Linked DNA regions of Homo sapiens: region 2 is linked to region 1. Evidence: promoter capture Hi-C in human tissues and cell types (Jung and others, 2019). All regions are on one chromosome and are shown on one strand. Each heading gives the region's core, a stretch centred on a gene start or on the middle of the fragment in contact. The rest is flanking DNA. Distances are from core to core; before and after follow the strand shown. Region 1 holds the start of HAX1 (HCLS1 associated protein X-1). Region 2 overlaps GATAD2B (GATA zinc finger domain containing 2B).

Region 1 (4,306 bases), core at 687-3,186:
ACAACAACAAACAAAAAAATGGCGTCATGAATATGAACAGCATTGTCAGATGAATTAGTTGAAGTGGTTTTTTTTTTGTTTTTTTTTTTTTTTTGTACTGTGTCCTCAAATTTAATGGATTAATGTGTCTTGTATATATAAAAAGAAAACCTCTACCTTCAGCCTCTGCCTATTCTTGCTCCGTCTAGGACATCCTCAATTTCGTCGATGACCAGCTTGGTGAATAAGTATTACTGTACCAACTGGGCCTCCTCTAGCAGGCCCCTGAAGGCAGTGGAATAAAATGAAATCTTCGCCCTTTAAGAACTCCTGACCTTAATGTGGTAGTAGTATCTTGTCCTTGAGGGGATTTCCTTCCCCTCACCCCTAAGACTTTCACAACCTGGTGACTGGAAAGAACCACCACAAATCTTCATTTCCTCCAGAAACTGCTACATCTACAGCCGATTTCAGGCAGTAAAGGGAGAGGGATAGAGGAGATTGGGTGGAAAATGGAGAGGATCAAGAAGGAGCTGAGACCATTTCAAAGAAAAAAAATGCTTTATAGAGTTTTAAGTATGACTTAGATGGGTCCAGGCAAATAAACTAAAAAGAAGTGAAGGCAACATGTATCGTCTGGCAGAACTAAATCTTGGAGTGGGGTGAGGGATGAAAGACTACATATTGGGTACAGTGTACACTGCTCGGGTGATGGGTGCGCTAAAGTCGCAGAAATCACTAAAGAACTCATCCATGTAACCAAACACCACCTGTACCCCAAAAACGAAATAAAAAAACAAAACCTTGGGGCCCATTCCCCCTAGGAATGGACTACTGTAGTAGTGGCTTCTTGGATGCTTCTCTGTGACATAGCTATACCCAATTCTTTGAAAAAGAATCTAGAGCAAGGTCTGGCTTGGGGATGGGGTACAGGGAGAGACAGGTCTCGGAGAGGTTTTGAACAAAACACTTTTAAAAAGGAATGAGGACAGGCGCTTTGGGAGGCTGGGTTGGGCGGATCACCTTAGGTCAGGAGTTCGAGACCAGCCTGGTCAACATGGTGAAACCCCGTTTCTACAAAAAATACAAAAGTAGCCGGGCGTGGAGGCGCATGACTGTAATCCCAGCTACTCGGGAGGCTGAGACAGGAGAGAACCTGGGAGGCGAAGGTTGCAGTGAGCCGACATGGTGCCACTGCACTCCAGCCTGGGAAACATGAGAGAAAACTCTGTCTCAAAAAAAAAAAAAAAAAAAAAAAAAAAAAGATACCAAAGGGATATTTCTTTATAACCCCCAATTTGTTCCTTCTCAGGACTCAACTAGCTTCCCTTCCCTTGCTTTCTTAAAAATCCTTTGTCTTGCTGGTTGCAGAGCCTGCTTAGAAAAAAGAATTCTATATAGTTATAACAAACTCCCTAGTAGCTAGAGAGGTGGAGGAAGTTAAGTCCATGCGTCTCTTATGTCTTGATCTCTTCTCTGGGAAATTCAATACTAGAAGGAGCTTGGAAAAGCATTTTGTTCATCCCTCTAACAGCAGACATCGCCCAGGTCAGTCAAAAAGAACGCCCGAGTAAGGAGCGAGGTGGCTTCTGCTGTGAGGCTGGCCAGCCCCGCGGGTGGGGTGGTTGAGGGACGCCCTCAAGCCGGTCCATTTGTGCGGCTGGGCTGCCCTCTGGCGGCTTTATCCGGGTGCCATCCAGAGTCAAACCCTCGAAATCGCTTTTCGTACTGAGTTGGTCTGCAGAAAGAAGAACAGATTTAGGAGGAAGGCGGTCATAGGAAACTGAAAGTGCGTCACGCCCACTCCCGTCACGGAAACTGGTCTCTGAAAGGTGGGGTAAAGATAAAGCCTTTCAAATTTGAGGAAGACCTTCGGTCCCGCCTCCATTTCACGTCCGGCTTACCGTCGTTTACGACAGTGTCAGGATCGCGGGCTTGCTTTCCGGTAGCGTGGGCTGACGCCTCGCTCAATTTCTCACAGGGCTGCGCAGGTTTCCCCCGTCTGCGAATGGACCACTGGAGGGGTTCAAAGGTTCGCGTCCCAGTACGGGAATGAGCCTCTTTGATCTCTTCCGGGGCTTTTTCGGCTTTCCTGGACCTCGGAGGTGAGAGTAGGTCCGGCTCGGACAAGGGTGGGGGTCGTCTGAGGGGAGCTTGACCCCTACGTCTTATTTTTGGAAAAACATCCTCTGTCCCACTCCTTCAACTCCTGCAGAGAGGACAGAAGTCGCAACATTGAACACTCACCCCGCCACAGTAACCAAGGCGGTCATTAAGAGGAGAAACAGCAAACTAAGCCTTTCTCCAACCTGGGGTGATGCAACAGGGACCCGGGCGGGGAAGACCGTGAGGGTCTGGGGAATAAGACAGTGAGCAAGTGAGCAGGACCTTGGGAGAGAGAGGAGGGACTGGGGCACACTGAAGAAAAACTGGGGGAAGGTGTATGAAGGGAGCTGCGAGCTGAGGTCTGACTTTGATTAAAAAAAAAAAAAAAAAAAAAGAACTGTCAGCCATTGTATTAATGTTTTGATGTGGCAGCCAGTCCTCCGACCCTCTCCCTAGCTTCCCAGACCCCTTGCTCTTGTCCCACTTTGCCACCCATGAGTTGATTTAATGGCTTAAATAGTGCTGAAATATTGGTGGCCAATCTGCCTCCACTCTCAGCCACAGAGATCCCTTTTTTGGAGGGATGACTCGAGATGAAGATGATGATGAGGAAGAAGAAGAAGAAGGGGGCTCATGGGGCCGTGGGAACCCAAGGTTCCATAGTCCTCAGCACCCCCCTGAGGAATTTGGCTTCGGCTTCAGCTTCAGCCCAGGAGGAGGGATACGTTTCCACGATAACTTCGGCTTTGATGACCTAGTACGAGATTTCAATAGCATCTTCAGCGATATGGGGGCCTGGACCTTGCCTTCCCATCCTCCTGGTGTGTGGCTTTCCCTAAGGGGCAACCTGTGGTTTCTGGTGGGTTGGTGGGTGAAATAAAGAGCCTGCAGGGAGTAGCTGGGGGATGGGAAGTGTGAGAAGACTGATGATTTCAGAGAGATTAATAGAGCCCAAGTCCTTTCCCATCCCAGCAAACACCTGCCACCTTTCTGCAGAACTTCCAGGTCCTGAGTCAGAGACACCTGGTGAGAGACTACGGGAGGGACAGACACTTCGGGACTCAATGCTTAAGTATCCAGATAGTCACCAGCCCAGGATCTTTGGGGGGGTCTTGGAGAGTGATGCAAGAAGTGAATCCCCCCAACCAGCACCAGACTGGGGCTCCCAGAGGCCATTTCATAGGGTGAGTATCCCATCTGGTCCTGAAGTGAGAGCTTGTGAGAGACCACTAATAAAGTGCAAAGACTGGCTAGGTGCGGTGGCTCACGCCTGTAATCCCAGCACTTTGGGAGGCCGAGGTGGGCAGATCACCAGAGGTCAGGAGTTGGAGACCAGCCTGGTCAACATGGTGAAACCCCGTGTCTACTAAAAATACAAAAAATTAGCCGGGCATGGTGGCAGGTGCCTGTAATGCCAGCTACTCAGGAGGCTGAGGCAGGAGAATTGGTTGAACCCAGGAGGTGGAGACTCCATCTCAAAAATTGTTTGAGACCCAGCCTTGCTCTGTTGCCCAGGCTGTAGTGCCGTGGCACAATCTCAGCTCACTGCAACCTCCAATTCCCAGGTTCAAGTGATTCTCCTGCCTCAGCCTCCTGAGTAGCTGGGATTACAGTCGCCTGCCAAACGCCCAGCTAATTTTTGTGTTTTTAGTAGAGATGGCGTTTCACCGTGTTGGCCAGGCTGCTTTTGAGCTCCTGACCTCAGGTGATCCACCCACCTCGGCCTCCCAAAGTGCTGGAATTACAAGTGTGAGCCATCATGCCTGGCCAAAGATTGCAATTCTTGTTTGAATCTGATAGCCTTGGGTTGGAATCCTAAGCCCTCCATTTAGTGTTTTCTGTTTTCTATATTAAGCTTGTGGGATTTTCTTTGGGGGGAGATGGGTGTTCTGTTTCTTTTAAAAAACAAAAACAAAAAAACACCACTGGTCTAGATAATTCTTGGATAAGGCAGGATTGTGCACAGAGGATAGGAATATATCAGTTCAGGAAGTCTTTCTGGTAGAAGGATACATAAAACAGCCAGGAAGGAGTGTGTAAATAAGGCTATTCTGAATGGAATTATCTCTTCTGTGGAAGGGGGTTTTGGAGCTCGGGAGTAGTTTGAGGTCTATGACCTTTCAAATTTCAGATTGGAAGGAGTCTTTTCACTTACTATGGTTTCTTCTGCAGTTTGATGATGTATGGCCTATGGACCCCCATCCTAGAACCAGAGAGGACA
Region 2 (4,291 bases), core at 1,030-3,529, 400 kb before region 1:
ACTGCAAATTTAAACTGCATGACAATAAAGAACACAATGCCTGCTACTAGTTTGGTGCTATTGCTCAGGGTTACCCTAACGTTTTAATCAGCATTGCTTTTGGATATCACTGCAAATGTTAACACAGGGAAGAAGGCAAATGATGACTTAGTATTATTATGAAACTATTCTGATCTCACAGACTCCATGAAAGGAGTCTATTCTCTAGGATTCCACAGACTACACTTTGAAAACTGCTAGGCTACTCTAACACACTTGTTTAATAGGTAACCTACCAATTCATATTTATTTCCAAGTTTAATGCAAACTACTTGACAGCAAATCTCTCTTCTTTGTACTTCGCTTTAATACCCCGCAACGATTTGAATGTGTCCCCCAGAAGTTCATCTGTTGGATACTTGGTGCCCAATGCAGGCGTGTTAAGAGGCGAGACCTTTAGGAAGTGCTTGAGCCATTCTCAGATTAATGGGTTATTCAGAGAAGGGGCTAGTTAGCACAAGAGTGGGTCTGTAATAAAAGCCAATGTGGCTGTCTCTCGTTAGTCCCCTCACCATGTGATGCCCTGTGCCACTCTGGAACTCTGCAAGGTCCCCACCAGCAAGAAGGCCCTCAGCAGATATGGCCCCTTGACCCTGGACTTTCCAGCCTCCAGAGCCGTGAGAAATAAATTTCTTGGGGCTGGTCATGGTGGCTCATGCCTGTAATCCCAGCACTTTTGAGAGGCCAAGGTGGATATATTGCTTGAGTACAGGAGCTCCACTCCAGCCTAGGCAACATAGTGAGACCCCATCTCTACAAAACATTTTTAAAGCAATTTAGCTGGGTGCAAAGGCACATGCCTGTAGTCCTAGCTACTTGAGAGGCTGAGGCAGGAGGACTGCTTGAGCCTAGGAGTTCAAGGCTACAATAAGCTATGACTGCACAACTGCACTCCAGCCTGGGTGACAGAGAATAAATAAAAAGGAAAGAGGAAAGAAAGAAAGGTAGGGAGGGGACCGGGTGCGGTGGCTCATGCCTATAATCTCAGCACTTTGGGAGGCCGAGGAGGGTGGATCATGAGGTCAAGAGATCGTCTGAGACCATCCTGGCCAACATGGTGAAATCCCATCTCTACTAAAAATACAAAAATTAGCTGGGTGTGGTGGCGTGTGCCTGTAGTCCCAGCTACTTGGGAGGCTGAGGCAGGAGAATCGCTTGAACCCAGGAGGCAGAGGTTGCAATGAGCTGAGATAGTGCCACTGCACTCCAGCCTGGGAGACAGAGCAACACTCCGTCTCAAAAGAAAAAAAAAAGAGAGAGGGAAAGAAATTTATTTATTTTCTTTATAAATTACCCAGTCTCAGGTTATAGCAACAGAAAATGGACTAAGACAACACACTACTATGAAGTGCCCCTAAGAGATTAAAAATAAGTGCTGTTACTGCCTAACCAACTTCAAACGGTACTTTCCTTCACCTAATGCTTATTAGCCATGTCAATAGACCCTCCCTTCTTCAAAATCCTATTCCTAAAAATCTGAAATGATTAATTCCTTCTAGTCCATGTAAGTCTAGTCTATTTTTAAATTTTTATTTATCTATTTTTGGGGTTTTTTTGTTGTTTTTGTTTTTGAGACGGAGTTTCCCTCTGTCACCCAGGCTGGAGTGCAGTGGCGCGATCTCGGCTTACTGCAACCTCCACCTCCCAGGTTCAAGCAATTCTCCTGTCTCAGTCTCCCAAGTAGCTGGGACTACAGGTGCATGCCATCATGCCCAGCTAATTTTTGTATTTTTAGTAGAGACAGGGTTTCATCATATTGCTCAGACTGGTCTTGAACTCCAGACATCAGGTGATCCACTCGCCTTGGCCCCCCAAAGTGCTGAGATTACAGGTGTGAGCCACCACATCCAGCCTATTTATTTATTTTTGAAACAGGGTCTTGTTCTGTCACCCAGGCTGGAGCACAGTGGCTCCATCACAGCTCATGGTTCACTGCAGCCTCAAACTCCCAGGCTCAATCAATCTTCCCACCTCAGCCTCCCAACTAACTGGGACTACAGGGACATGCCACCATGCCCAGCATTTTTTCTTGTAAGCAAAGATGGGGTCTTGTTGTGTTGACCAGGCTGGTCTCAAGCTCCTGGGCTCAAGTGATCCTCTTGCCTAGGCCTCCCAAAGTGCTGGAATTACAGGTGTAAGCCACCACGCCCAGCCAAATTTAGTCTCATTATTTCTCTTCTGATTTCTAGAACTTGCTTCATAGGTCACTTTTCTAGGAAAAAAAGACTCTTGATTAGACCAGGGGCATCCAACCTTTTGGCTTCCCTGGGCCACAATGGAAGAACTGTCTTGGGCCACACATAAAATACACTAACACTAAAGATAGCTGATGAGCTGGAAGAAAAAAAAAATCTCATGTTTTAAGAAAGTTTCTGAATTTGTATTGAGCTGCATTCAAAGCTGTCCTGGGCCGCATGCAGCCCAAGAGTTGCAGGTTAGACAAGCTTGATCTATACCATGCGGTTCTTACAAACTTCTTCTGTAAAGGACCAGATAATAACATTTTAGACTTTGTGGGGCAAGTACTAAACTCTGCTTTTGTAAGCAAGTGGGTGTGGCTGTGTTTCAACAAAATTTCATTTACCAAAACAAGCAGCAGCTATAGTTTGCTGACTCCTGATCTTGATACAGGTCAATAGACCTACCACGAGTTTGGAGGGAAAAAAAAAAAAAAAAAAAAAAGGTAGCCACAAGCTGGCTAAAATAAACTAGTAAGAACAATGAAAATAGTATAAACAAACCCAACAGACAGGAATATCTATCTTGCTAACATTCACTGAGCTCTTACTATGTGCTAGGCATTGCGCTAAAGTGCTTCACAATGCATTATCTCATTTAGAACCTCTGGAGATATAATTATCCTCCTGTTAGAGAGAAAAGAAAAACAGATAAACTGAGTAACTTCATACGATTTCACAGTCCAGGCCAGGCACAGTGGCTCATGCCTGTAATCCCAGCACTTTGAGAGGCCAAAGCAGGCGGATCATGAGGTCAGGAGTTCCAGATCAGCGTGGCCAATATGGTGAAACCCCGCCTCTACTAAAAAATACAAAAATTAGCTGGGTGTGGTGGCGCATGCCTGTAGTCCCAGCTACTCAGTAGGCTGAGGCAGGAGAATCGCTTGAACCCGGGAGGCGGAGACTGCAGTGAGCTGAGATCGCGCCACTACACTCCAGCCTGGGCAACACAGTGAGACTTCGTCTCAAAAAAAAAAAAAAAAAAAAAAAAAAAAAAAAAGATTTCACAGTCCTTAAATGGCTGGGCGTGGTTAAAACACAGGACTGTCTTACCTGAGTCAATGTCCTTAACCATCGTACTATGCTATCTATATTGTCATTTTTGGTTTCCGATCCAACCAGACTGGTAAGAGAGTAATTCTTATGAAAGACTATTACTGTTTACATGCTCTTACAGTGTCTTTTCTGTATCACTGAGTTTACTACACAAACCTTTGGCTCACATTCTTGAAAGAAAGAGCCTAGATGACCTTGCAGTGGGTAACATACTGCTCAGTAATATGCACCAAGGATTGTAAAGGTCGCTATGCTTAAATGTGACAAGTTAGAGTGTGCTGCCTAGAGGTAATGAACAGGAGGTAAACAGCTTTCTCCTACTGTCACCTTACAAATCAGCACAGAAGTTCTGACATACACGAAAGCAAATGTGCCAGACAATCATTTAGAAAAGGTGATATGAGAGGTCAGGGCGGTGGCTCATGCCTATAATCCCAATACTTTGGGAGGCCAAGGCGGGCAGATCACCTGAGGACAGGAGTTTGAGACCAGCCTGGCCAACATGGTGAAACCCCGTCTCTACTAAAAATACAAAAATTAGCTGGGCATGGTGGCAGGCGCCTGTAATTTCAGCTACTCGGGAGGCTGAGGCAGGAGAATCACTCGAACCTGGTGAGGGGAGGGCGGCGGGTGGAGGTTACAGTGAGCCAAGATCGTGCCACTTCACTCCAGCCTGGGTGAAAGGCGAGACTCCGCCTCAAAAAAGAAAAGAAGAACAGGCAGTATTAGAGTGAAAGGTTCTTTGCATTGGCCCATGCCTATAATCCCAGCACTTTGGGGGGCTAAGGCAGAAGGACTGCTTAAGGCCAGGAGTTTGAGACCAGCCTGGGAAAAACAGTGAGCCTCTGTCTCTACCAAAAATAATAATAATGAAATTAGCCAGGCATGGTGACATGCCTATAGTCAGTCCTAGCTACTTGGGAGGCTGGGGCAAAAGGATCACTTGAGCCCAGGAGTTC

Evidence for each region. Contacts are between HindIII fragments. The study calls those that stand out against the background at their distance.
Region 2: a contact is called between a fragment that was not itself captured here and the fragment with the promoter of HAX1 in region 1, in 1 of the 25 tissues and cell types used here (liver).

The regions. Positions count from the first base shown.
Region 1 is chr1:154,270,693-154,274,998 of GRCh38, forward strand. HAX1 (HCLS1 associated protein X-1) reads left to right here and starts at 1,937. Exons shown (of 7, transcript NM_006118.4): 1 at 1,937-2,084; 2 at 2,644-2,906; 3 at 3,082-3,269; 4 at 4,258-4,306. The coding sequence starts at 2,032. UBAP2L (ubiquitin associated protein 2 like) reads left to right here. Exons shown (of 27, transcript NM_014847.4): 27 at 1-155. RefSeq lists a silencer at 1,553-1,693 and an enhancer at 1,831-2,000. The HindIII fragment of the contact is 12,660 bases long and covers 1-4,306 here.
Region 2 is chr1:153,872,985-153,877,275 of GRCh38, forward strand. All of the region lies in intron 1 of GATAD2B (GATA zinc finger domain containing 2B), which reads right to left. Among named protein-coding and RNA genes, the nearest start is that of GATAD2B, 48 kb to the right of the region's middle. The HindIII fragment of the contact is 8,682 bases long and covers 1-4,291 here.